Regions from separate parts of the Homo sapiens genome. Here regions 2 and 3 are each linked to region 1. Evidence: promoter capture Hi-C in 16 types of primary human blood cells and fetal thymus (Javierre and others, 2016). All regions are on one chromosome and are shown on one strand. Each heading gives the region's core, a stretch centred on a gene start or on the middle of the fragment in contact. The rest is flanking DNA. Distances are from core to core; before and after follow the strand shown. Region 1 holds the start of PAPOLG (poly(A) polymerase gamma). Region 2 holds the start of FAM161A (FAM161 centrosomal protein A). Region 3 has its middle 77 kb from the start of FAM161A.

Region 1 (4,103 bases), core at 886-3,385:
GAAAGAATCAAATGGAAGATAAAATAGCCTGTATACCTTCCAAAATGACTCAAAAAAAAAAAAAAAAAAAAAAACCCCAGAAACCAAAATACTGGTTAATTTATCTTCTGTATTTATTTTGTTGTAGAACAAACAAAACTTCAATTAGTTATTTCAAGTGGTAATTTCTTTTTAAAGATTTGGCTTTTTACCTCTGAGAAAGCTAGAGCAGTGTTTTGGTATTGTTTGTGTAATACATATGTAAATATATACGGTAAGTGAATAGGACAGAGTAATTATCTACATATCTATATAGTATCACTCAATCGCAATAATCCTAAGGGGTATTGAATAAGTGCCATTTTACAGATAAGTACCTGAAAGTCAAAGAGAGGACAAGCCAGAATCTGAACTCCAAAACCTCTTTCCACTACTCCATTCTCTCCTCTCTAACTACTTCAGCTCTGACACCATGATGACGGGCCTCACTTTTTTACCTGTATGCTGACAAAGTTGGCCAACTAGCCTACTGGCCCTAAAATTCCAAATCCAGGTTCTGAACTTCCCCCATCTAGAGGGGAGGGGAAAGTAAACAACAGAATCCCACATTCCCTTCAAACCATCAATTTCACTTACAGGCAAACAACCTAGAGAAATTCTAGTTACAAGCGTACAAAGAGACACCTAAAAGAACGTTCACTGTCACATTGTAACATTAAAAACTTAGAAATAAAATAGTCACTAACAGGAAAAGAATTAAATTAGGGTGTTTTCCTACAATAGAATACAATACAATAATTAATATTAATTAATTACAACTAAAATACTAACATGAACAAAGCTCAGAGATACTATGTTGTGCTAAAGAAGTTACAGAATTCCAAGTGTGATACGAGTTATATAAAGTTTAAAAACAACTAGAACTATGCCAGTTATTATGAACACATGTGTATGTAGTAATAGCATTAAAAAACATGCAGCTCCCATGATTCGAGGGCGGAAAAAAAAGAAGTAAAATAAAAAACAGGCAGCAACGATAAACATCAAATTCAAGACTGTGGAGACATCTGGAGCAAGAGATGATTGGGACCAGAGAAGGAGGTAGGAGAGTCCTTCAGATGTATCTGGAATGCTTGATTTCTTTTTAAAATAAATACACAGATACGTATATACACACCGTGTGTGTGCGTGTGTGCATGTACGTGTATGTGTGTACAGTTACGTTTTGGGAGAAATGGGTGGTGGCTCCACAAATGATGCTTATGTTATTCTCTACATTTTTCTGCATGTTTAAATTATTTCCTAATAGACCAAAATGGAAGAAGCTACAACAAAATCTTGCCAAGTACGGGAACTGTTTCTGACTTATCAAAGTGTGAACAAGAGGTACAGACCGGTAGATGTTGTGGGTAGGTGGGGAAGCAGGGGGTGAGGGAGAGGGTGGGGACGGCGGTGAAAAGACTGTAGCCTCATATGAAAGAGAAACCCTTGGGCTGCGATAGGTCTTTCACTCCTGAAGACCTGGAGACAGCCGGTCGGGAAGGGAGGAGGGGGAGGCAGGGGGATGGTATTTGCGCCAATGCAGACAGGAGCAGACGGGCTCAGACAGTGCTGGGGGCAGGCGAGTGACCGACAATTTCTCCCTACGGACACAGGCACCTCTTTCCCTCCTCATCCTTTTCTGAGGGCGTCCTCGGAGGCGGGACAGCTGGGGACTCCCGGAGTCCCCGAGTCCGTGCAGGGGTGGCCAGGTGAGCCGCCGGGTTTAGGGGAGGTGCCCTTGCGGACCGGCCGGGAGCCGGGAAGGAGACCATCCCGGCGAGCTGCGTGCAGGGCGCAAGGGACAGGGAACGGAAACAAGGACACAGTCGGACCACCTCAGCTCACCCCTACCCGCCTCACCCCAACCGCCGCCCCCCACCACTTACGCAGACATCTCTTTCATCGCTTCCTGCGTCTCCCTCTCCAGCGAGTGTTTATCGCTCTGGAGTCCTGTTCTTGCTGTTCCCTTCTCCCCCTGTTCACTTTCCTCCGGTCGCTAGTAGCTCGCTTGCTCGCTCACTTTCCCACTTACTATGGCTGAGGCATCCAACCGAGTAGTGAAAACACCACAAAACCGGCTCTATTTATGACAATACAGCGCGGCCGACGCCAATATGGCGCCGCTTCCCAGCCTGCCTCTCGCAGGTCTCAGCCCCGCCCCTGGAGGTCTGGACCACCCTCAGCCACGCCCCCTCTGCCTTTAGGTCCCGGGAGGCTCCGGGGCCCCGCCCACAAGCTCAGGGCTCTCAGTATACCGTTGGTTCGAAGGAGTATTTATTTGGTACTCTCCTTTGTCCGCGGTACTGTCAATGCCGGTAGACCGCTTGGAAGGAAATTTGGAGATATGTTTTCCTTGCCTCTCGAATGGCAGCATATATCATACATTTTTTAAAAAGGTCACACCCTTGCCTAGCAAAAACTATTTCAACGCCTCCGTTATCCTACATCTTTGATTTAATTATAGTTATACATAATTAACTCACCAGTTGAGATTTTGTCTCGAAAGGGTCACACCCAGGAACATACGACTTTCACACAAGTATCCCAGGGAAAAACAAGCTTGTAAATTGGAGGCTTAACTGTTCACTTCACCCCTAAGTACCACCTTTGATTAGTGACATTCTGGCATTTAGCTGACAGAGGTTGAAAATAGTAGCTAGCAGTTTGCAATAGGATAAATCCCAGGCTGAAACAAAAATCTTACACTTTTAAATAGTGGAAATCATGTTCGATGTGAGTGTGGGGATGAAAATGAGAAAATAATAACCAATTTTAAAATGCTGAAAGGTAGAAGTAATTTCAAGCACTAAATCATTACAAAGAAAAGGAAGTCAAGAACTGCTTGCTCTTGAACATAACTCAGAGTCACAGTAAATAGAGGAGATTACTTGCTGATTAATTCATTAAAAAATATTTATTGAGGCAAGATACAGTGGCTCACACCTGTAATCCCAGCACTTTGGGAGGCCAAGGTGGGAGAATTGCTTGAGGCCAGGAGTTCGAGAACAGCCTGGGCAACATAGTGAGACCCTGTCACTACAAAAAGTTTTAAAAAAATTAGCTGGGCATGGTGGCCCATGCCTGTAGTCCCAGCTACTCAGGAGGCTGGGGTGGGAGGATCTCTTTGAGTCCAGGACGTGGAGGCTGCAGGAAACCAGGATGGCACCACTGCATTCCAGCCAGAGTGATAGAAGGAGACCCTGTCTCAAAAAAATAAATAAATAAATAAATAAATAAAAACTACAAAACATATTTTTGAAAACCTGAGCAAGGTGCAGTGGCTCTTGCCTGCAATCCCAGTGCTTTGTGACGCCAAGGCTGGTGGATCACTTGAGGCCATGAGTTCTATTAAGACCAGCCTGGCCAACATGGCAAAAACCCATCTCTACTTAAAAGCAACAACAAAAACCTGACGTGGCCTGGTGTGGTGGATCACACCTGTAATCCTAACATTTTGGGAGGCTGAGGCGGGTGGATCACTTGAGGTCAGGAGTTCGAGACCAGCCTGGCCAACATGGTGAAACCCCATCTCTACTAAAAATAGAAAAACTAGCTGGGTGCGTGGTGCGCCTGTGATCCCGGCTACTCAGCAGGGTGAGGCAGGAGAATTGCGTGAACCCGAGAGGCAGAGGTTTTTTTGAGATGGAGTCTCGCTCTGTTGCCCAGGCTGGGGTGCAGTGGCGTGATCTCTGCTCAGCCTCCTGAGTAGGTGGGATTACAGGCATGCACCACCACGTCCAGCTATATTTTTGTATTTTTAGTACAGACGGGGTTTCACCATGTGGGCCAGCTAGTCTCAAACTCCTGACATCAGGTAATCCGCCCACCTCGGCTTCCCAAAGTGCTAGGATTACAGATGTGAGCCACCACACCCAGCCAAGCAGTGTTTTATTATTTATTTATTTATTTATTTTTGAGATGGAGTCTTGCTCTGTCACCTAGGCTGCAGCACAGTGGCATGATCTTGGCTCACTGCATCCTCTGCCTCCTGGGTTCAAATGATTCTCCTGTCTCAGCCTCCCGAGTAGCTGGGACTACAGGCGTGCGCCACCACGCCTGGCTAATTTTTTGTATTTTAGAGA
Region 2 (4,103 bases), core at 889-3,388, 1.1 Mb before region 1:
ACTCCAGCCTGGGTGACAAGGAGACTCCATCTTAAAAAAAAAAAAATTGTTTTGTTAATTACAATAAATTATGTCAAAAACAAAGATAATTTCTTAAAACTCTTCACTTTCTTTTATGTTCCTTGCATCTACTGTATCTGTATGGTGGAAATACTATATAATGGTGTGCTACTAGACATCTTTTCTCAAATTCTTATTAAGTGATGTCACATTGGTGGCTTGAAATTGGCTATGATGGGAATATTGACATCATGGAAATCAGCAAAAGCTAAACATTGGACATTTAAACTTAAGAAACGGATGTGGAAAATATTAATGCAGAGTAAACTTAAAAGTTTGTGTTATCTGTAGCCTTTACATTGTGACTTGCAGAAAAAATTAAGAAAAATTATTCCAGTGTTAGAAAATGATTATCTATTTCAGCAAAGAAGTTGCTCATAACATTGACAAGTGAAATTCTGACATAGATCTTGGATATGTCACTCTCATCTTAATCACAAATAAAAACAAAAATATTAACCAACATTCATGTTGGAACTAGGTTGTTAAACAATTGCAACCATAAGTTGGCCACAAATACAGGAGTACAGCATAAACCAACGAAAGCATTCTGAGAGAAGCAATTGTCTATGAGGAATTTACAGTAAAGAGAATAGGATATTTCATTATTTATAATTCATCTGCTATAATTCCTTATCAATACTTTTGTTGGTGGTGGTGGTGGTGAGACGGAGTCTTGCTTTATTGCCCAGGCTGGAGTGCAGTGGCGCCATCCCGGCTCACTGCAACCTCCGCCTCCCGGGAGTGCGCCTGTAATCCCAGCTACTCCGGAGGCTGAGGCAGTTTTGTAGCCACAAAACTGGCTGCCGTGTCTGACTGGAAATTGCTCCCCTGGAAACTTGGCCACACCTGGCGGTGCATATCTCATGGTTCTGGCTCTGGCTTCTGCTTAGAACCCAGTCAGCATCTGTTCCAGCATGGGAAGCAACTGTTCAGCTAAAACCAAGAGCAGCCTGAAGGAAGTGGGGACGTAGGAGACTTTGTAGGTGCTCACACCCAGACAGGAGAACAAAGGTTTGGTAAGGGCTCAGACCTTAGAGACGGGTTCTCGACGATGTGCAGCGCATAACGAGGAAAATACTGACCGGAGGGGGCCGGTCGTAGGGCTGGGGAGCAGGAGGAGGGCAAAGGATAGAGAGGGGGTAGATAGGGAGTAGATAGGGGGCGGCAGCCTCGGCCTCAGTAAGCAGGGGCTCAGGGAGCAGATGTCTGAGACTGCACCACGTCCGCTATTTTGAGGTTTGGCTTCTCTTACTGCCACGTGGTGCAGAGGGAAGGCGCCATTTGATGCGTCCAAATCCCGAGTGGGAAGAGAAGATACGGATGAGGGAGATGGATGTGTCTGTGGTGACTCTTGGGCACTTGTGCCGTTCAATCCTGTCACTCTCAAGCTGAAGAACCCAAAGCAAACGCCAGGTTTACAATACCTGCACTATCACTCATTAGTGGGAGGGTCAGGCGCCACCCAACTCTGGGCTTTTATTGGTCATGTCAAGAAAAAAGCGAGAGGGACAACTGGGAGCCTCCTTCTGATTGGTGGATTCCTGCTAGCCCTCAAGTCAATCAGAGTAGAATGTACCGCCCTCCTTCCCACTCTGGCCCCCGCGGGAGACATGTTAGGTAGCGGGACGCCAACCTTGTCACTCTTCTGAGACCGCCACCCAGTAACACGCCCTGCTTTCCTCCGCCGCCGCCGTCTCCTCCATCAACTGTCTCCTTCTAACATGTTATTGCAGTTAATAAAAAAGCGTTCTTTTCTTCACAAAAGCAGTTGTTTCATTGTATAATGTGAGAAGTCTGCGTTCAGGCGGTTAGACGCAAAGGAGTGGAATAAGTGCCCTGTTCAGCCTGCCAACCTTCGGAACCAGCCAACAGACTCGGTACTGACTGCCATGATCCAGTAAGCACCCGACTCGGGTCTCTGGCAGCCTGAGTGGATTTTGCGTGACTTTTGGTCCCTGGCGGCTCCTGTAGCGTCCCCAGTTACGGCGCCCATAGCAACCGGCTCCCTAGCTAGGCGCCCCCGGGTTGCCAGGGGCCGCACCAGCTTTCCCGTCCCGGGCCAGCGCAGGCGCTCAGGCCTCGGAGGCGGGGCGATGGCCACCTCCCACCGAGTGGCGAAGCTGGTGGCCTCCAGTCTCCAGACCCCGGTAAATCCCATCACTGGAGCGCGGGTCGCCCAGTACGAACGCGAAGACCCCTTAAAGGCCCTGGCGGCAGCGGAGGCGATCTTGGAGGACGAAGAGGAGGAGAAAGTGGCTCAGCCCGCTGGGGCATCGGTAATACTGGGGCGGGACTTGGGCTGGGACCTCGCATGGGCTGGGTGCAGGCTGAGGGCTGTCCGGTTCCCCGCCCAGCTGAGGGCAGGCTGGTAAACGCGGGTCCCTGTGCACATAGTCCCTACTTGGTGGTCCTGGCCCAGCCCCTTCTCTACGCTCACGAAAATTACTCTAAATCGAGGCGTTGAAAAGTGTTTTAATTTTCACCAGTCTGTTGTAAAAGCTTCCTAGACAACATTTATGTTACTCTGCTTCTGGCAAGTGCAAAGTATAGAATTTTACTCTCTACTCTCCAGCATCTCGGGAATGGATATATAGAGATATATCTGGCTATATATAGTAATTTGAGGAAAACTGTTCTGTCAGGTGTGTTTCGTTATTACCTTAAGATCTTGGTTATAAGCGGATCTCAACATAGTGCTCTAAAGATGTGTGTTTAAAACCATCACGTGTTCACTGGCTAAATCAGACACGGATACAGATAAGCAAATCACTGAGGTTTCAGTGTTTCCTAAACAGCTCTTTAGGGTACAGCGAGACGGCCTTTTCACTGATCAGTTTTCATTGTTAAATCTGTTGTGGACACCAGTCCAGCAGGTAGAGGGCAGGGTCTGCCATCTGCTCAATTCACTTAAAAGATGGGAATCTTGGCCGGGCGCGGTGGCTCGTGCCTATAATCCCAGCACTTTGGGAGGCCGAGGTGGGCGGGTTACGAGGTCAGGAGTTCGAGACCAGCCTGACCAACATGGTGAAACCCCGTCTGTACTAAAAATACAAAATTTAGCCGGGCGTGGTGGTGCGCCCCTGTAATCCTAGTTACTCGGAAGGCTGAGGCAGGAGAATCGCTTGAACTTGGGAGGTGAGGGTTGCAGTGAGCTGAGATCTCAGACCCAGTCTCAAAAAAAAAAAAAAAAAAAAAAGATGGGAATCTTGAATTTAAACTAGCAATCTGCAGATAGAAAAAATTTCCTAATACCATGTGTCCAAAGCTTCTCAGACACCAAACTTATGATTGAGGACTAACTGAAATCACTGGATATTTTGGAATTCTGATCTCTTTAATCTACAGTAAAATTGTTAATGAGAACATCTTTAGCAACACCTTTTGTGACCAATCTTTCACCAACAGACAAACAACTTGAAGTTATCCAGAGTAAGGCAGACTGAGACCCTGAACATGAACCAGGATCAGAGTGCTAGGACCGATTTTGTTCATGATGAAGCTACCCCTCAACACAATTTTCAGTAGGCAACAAGGCAACGTGATGGAGAAAAAGGATTGAAGAGTTCTGTATTAGGATCCATTCCCTGCCACTTCCTAGGTGGTGTTAGGACATAATTTCCTTAAACCTCAGTTTCCTTATCTGTAAAATAACTATAATAATTGTCTCTTTTTTCCCATCTCAGCTCTATGAGAACCAAATGAAAGAATGTGTGTCTCCTCTAAAGAGCAATCTATGTAAATGAGTTGCCAGTGGGAGTGTCATTTGTGTGCCTTCCCAAAGATTAAACTCAACTTTGGCTTGCTGTGGTAAAGGAGTCAGTCACTTCTAAGTTGCAGATATGCTTCCACAGTGCCCTGTTAAACTGCAAATTTGTGTTAGAAACTGTTATTACCTTAGGAGGGATCAGTTTATACAATAATCTAGTTTGGAAAGGACAGGATCCTACAAAAAAAAAAAGGAAGCCAAGTCTTAAGAGTTTGGTACTGTTCTGAGACCACCACACATGAGGGATCCAAAAGTAAAGCTGGGTAAGCTGCCA
Region 3 (4,103 bases), core at 1,157-3,656, 1.0 Mb before region 1:
TTTTTTATTAAAAAAATCCATCTTCATTTTTCCCCTATGTAATGCATTTTTTCCCCTCTAGATTCCTGGAAAAAATCTCCTTCAAGAGTTTTTTTGGCTGGGTGCAGTAGCTCACACCTGTAATTCCAGCACTTTAGGAGACTGAGGTGGGAGGATTACTTGAGGTCAGGAGTTGGAGACCAGCCTGTGCAGAATAGTGAGACCCTCCCTCTACAAAAAAAAAAAAAAAAAAAGTACAAAATCATGCAGGCATGATGGCATCCACCTGTAGTCCTAGCTGCTCAAGAGGCTTTGGCTGGAAGATCTCTTCAGACCAGGAGGTTGAGGCTATGAGCCTGGGCAACAGAGTGAGACCTTGTCTCTTAAAAAAAATTTTTTTTCATGTGTGTTTATTTATCCAGCAGTTTGATTATGACGTGTCTGAGGATGGATTTCTTTGGGTTTATCCTTTTGGGATTTGTTGGGATTCTTGAATCTGTATGTTTGTCTTTCAACAAATTTGAGAAGTTTTCAAGCATTATTTCTTCAAACGCCTTTTTCTTTTTTCTTTTTTTTTGAGACGGAGTCTCACTGTCGCCTAGGCTGGAGAGCAGTGGCATTGTAACCGATCTCAATCCGTGGTGGACTGAACAAAGGCAGGCGAACGTGGGAATAAAGACGAAGACAAAAGATTATATTTGGAAGAAGGGGTCAGAGGGCACCTTGCCTGTAGTGGACAAGGGTCCTGAACAGCCCTCCGTATTTATTTGGCAAAAGAGATAGAGACAAGTGGGGGTGTGGAAGAAGAGGTCAGCTGCTCGGTCTAGAGTAGGCTTGCAAGACCACATTCCTTGAACAGTAGGCTCTAGTTGTCCCAGTAGATAACTTCAAGGAGCCCGGTGCCAGGGAGTGATTGCCCTCAGCAAACCTCCTGGCAGCAGGCACAGTCGTGAGTTTGCTCACATCCTGCATTCATGATAAACAGTTTGCTGTTTGATCATATAGCCTCCAGTGGTCACGATCTCTTTGTCCTTTTCAGCTCCCAACAGGCATGATCGTGGCTCACTGTAAACTCTGCTTCCCAGGTTCAAGTGATTCTCCTGCCTCAGCCTCCCAAGTAGCTGGTATCACAGACACGTGTCATCACACCTAGCTAATTTTTGTGTTTTTAGTAGAGATGGGGTTTCACCATGTTGGCCAGGCTGGTCTCAAACTCCTGACCTCAGGTGATCCTTCCACCTCGGCCTCCCAAAGTGCTGGGATTACAGGCGTAAGCCACCGTGCCTGGCCAAAAACCTTTTTCTACATCACAGTCTTTCTCCTCTCTGGGACTCTAATAATTTACGTGAGGCATTTTAGTACTATCCTACAGATCCCCAAGGCTCTGTTCTTCCTATTTTTTAAGTAATTTTTTCTCTCAGTTGTTCAGATCAGTAATTCTATTATGTACCTTCTAGGTCACTGACTCTTTCCTCTGCCATCTCCATTCTGTTCTGAGCCCATCCAGTGGGTTTTAAATTTTGGCTATTGTATTTTTCAGTTCTCAAATGGAAAAACTGAATACAATAGAAATAGGAAATCATGGCCAGGTGTGGTGGCTCACGCCTGTAATCCCAGCACTTTGGGAGGCTGAAGTGGGCAGCCTCACCTGAGGTCTGGAGTTTGAGACTAACCTGACAAACATGGTGAAACCCCATCTCTACTAAAAATACAAAAATTAGCTGGGCTTGGTGGCAGGTGCCTGTAATCCCAACTACTTAGGAGGCTGAGGCAGGAGTATTGCTTGAATCCAGGAGGCGGAGGTTGCAGTGAGCTGAGACTGCCCCATTGCACTCCAGCCTGGGCAACAAGAGTAAAACTCTGTCCTAAAAAAAAAAAAAAAAAAAAAAAAAAAGGGAAATCTTTGCCAAGACTTTCTTTTTTTTATGTTTTCATTTATTTCAAGGATGTTTTGGAATATTTTTATAACACCTACTTTAATGTCTTTGTCAGATAATGCCAACATCTGTGTCATCTTAGTGTTAGTGTCTATCAATTATCTTTTCCCAGTTTAGATTTTTCTGGTTTCTCAAATGCTGAGTAATTTTAGATTGTATCCTGGATATTTTGAATATTATGCTACGAGACTAGAGGTTTTGTTTAAATCCTGGAGTGAATGTTGACATTTTTGTGTTAGCCATAATCAGTCAGGTTGGGATTAGACTGTAAACTCCAATTAGACTTCTCTAGGTTGTAATTTTAATATCAGTTCTGTTTTTAAAGGCTTTGCAGTGTTATTTGGATCAGTCCTGAATGTTCTTGACCCAGTGGTCAGTCAAGGTCTGAGGCAGGAACTGTGTAGTTCAGTTCTCACAGCCTGTGGTACAGTGTTGAGGATCAGATCCACACATGTACAGCTTGGGAGTTACCTCAGAAATCATAAACTTTTGCTCCTTCCTCTACTCAATTTCCTAGTTTTATCCCAATTCCTTGGGGCTCCCTTTTATAGTTCTCTGATCAGAAAACTTGGGTTTTGTTTTTCATTTTATTTTTGAGACAGAGTCTCTCTCTGTTGCCCAGGCTGAGGTGTGCAATCTCAGCTCACTGCAGCCTTGACCTCCGGGCTCCAGAGATCCTCTCACCTCAGCCTCCTGAGTAGCTGGGACTACAGGCACGCACCACCACACCCAACGGATTTTTGTATTTTTTGTAGAGACAGTGTCTCACTGTGTTGCCCAGGCTGGTCTCGAACTCATGGGCTCAAGTGATCCTCCCACCTCGGCCTCCCAAAGTGCTGGGATTATAGGAATGAGCTGCTGTGCCCAGCCAAGTACATACGCTACTTTTCTGTTCACTTTCCGTAACTACGCTTATGTCTGGAGCGAGGCAGTGGGAGGACAGAGATGAAAAAAGAAAGCAGTGGGGGTTTGCCATTTACCCTACTCTGATTTTTGGGAACACAGCACCTCTGATCAGAGAGGAAAGTTCTCTTTTCTCAAAGTTTTAGGCACCTGCCTGCTCCTCTTACCATTAATGTCATTTTCACTTCTGCTTTTATAGGATTACTTGAGGTTTGGGTGCTAGAGAATGGAGAAAAGAAAAACAAAACAAAACAAAAAACAAAGCACATGAGATTTCCCCCACTTTGTCTGTATATTAGGAAACTCTTTTTCCACCCCTCAAGCCAGATCTAGAAGCCTTCTCCTGGAGCTCTTTCTGTCCACACTGATTTGGACTTCAGGCTTTTGGGCTGCACAAGTCCAGACTAGGGATATCAGAGGGGAAAAAATGGTAAGCTCTCTGCATGTTCAGTGGTACTTCATATTCATGCCTTCTTCTCCAACCTTTCTGTTTCGATTTACTTTTCAGTCCTCAAGTTTGGGAGCCATGCATTCTTTCCAGGTTAATAGCTACATTCAGTAGGAGAGATAGGTTGGGATTTGCTCACTCCATCTTACTTGGAACTAGAAACTTCCTAAAGCAGTGATGTTACAAGAAGATAATTTGAATTACAGTTTTCTAGTTTTACAATATTTTAAAGCTGATTGAATATAAATAATTTAAAAATATATTTCCAGGCCCAAATATTAACATTATAATTTAAACTACTGGATCCATCATTGACCCTTTTAATAATTGGAAGGTTTAAGACTCCCACACTCAATATATTAGAAAAATAATACATTCATGTTCATTCTCCCATTTTTTGTGTTTCTCTTTCAATATAGCACATTTACTACTAATGCTCATTTATCCCATCAAAAATGTCACATAAAAACTGGAATAATTCAGAAATTTGGAGTGGGATTCATTTACGATTTATAAGTTACCTGGTAGAGTTTGACTTATAAGAAAGCACATTGTGAGGGCCGGGTGTGGTGGCTCACGCCTGTAATCCCAGCAATTTGGGAGGCCAAGGCGGGCGGATCACCTGAGGTTGGGAGTTCGAGACCAGCCTGACCAACATGGAGAAACCCTGTCTCTACTAAAAATACAAAATTAGCCGGGCATGGTGGCACACGCCTGTAATTCCAACTACCCGGGAGGCTGAGGCTGGAGAATTGCTTGAACTTGGGAGGCAGAGGTTGCAGTGAGCCAAGATCACACCATTGCACTCCAGCCTGGGTGATAAGAGTGAAACTCTG

The links. Contacts are between HindIII fragments. The CHiCAGO score rates a contact against its expected background, and 5 or more counts as called.
Region 2: a contact is called between the fragment with the promoter of FAM161A here and the fragment with the promoter of PAPOLG in region 1, in 6 of 17 cell types (total CD8 T cells, naive CD4 T cells, fetal thymus and 3 more). The highest score is 9.5, in total CD8 T cells.
Region 3: a contact is called between a fragment that was not itself captured here and the fragment with the promoter of PAPOLG in region 1, in 1 of 17 cell types (total B cells). The highest score is 5.7, in total B cells.

Annotation. Positions count from the first base shown.
Region 1 is chr2:60,754,300-60,758,402 of GRCh38, reverse strand. It overlaps PAPOLG (poly(A) polymerase gamma), which reads right to left and starts at 2,135. Exons shown (of 22, transcript NM_022894.4): 1 at 1,908-2,135. The coding sequence starts at 1,924. RefSeq lists an enhancer at 1,910-2,219. The HindIII fragment of the contact is 3,911 bases long and covers 1-2,582 here.
Region 2 is chr2:61,852,095-61,856,197 of GRCh38, reverse strand. FAM161A (FAM161 centrosomal protein A) reads left to right here and starts at 2,138. Exons shown (of 7, transcript NM_001201543.2): 1 at 2,138-2,339. The coding sequence starts at 2,157. RefSeq lists enhancers at 945-994, 1,735-1,964, 2,205-2,364, 2,525-2,654. The HindIII fragment of the contact is 5,666 bases long and covers 1-2,564 here.
Region 3 is chr2:61,775,048-61,779,150 of GRCh38, reverse strand. No RefSeq gene overlaps it. Among named protein-coding and RNA genes, the nearest start is that of FAM161A, 77 kb to the left of the region's middle. The HindIII fragment of the contact is 5,382 bases long and covers 1-4,103 here.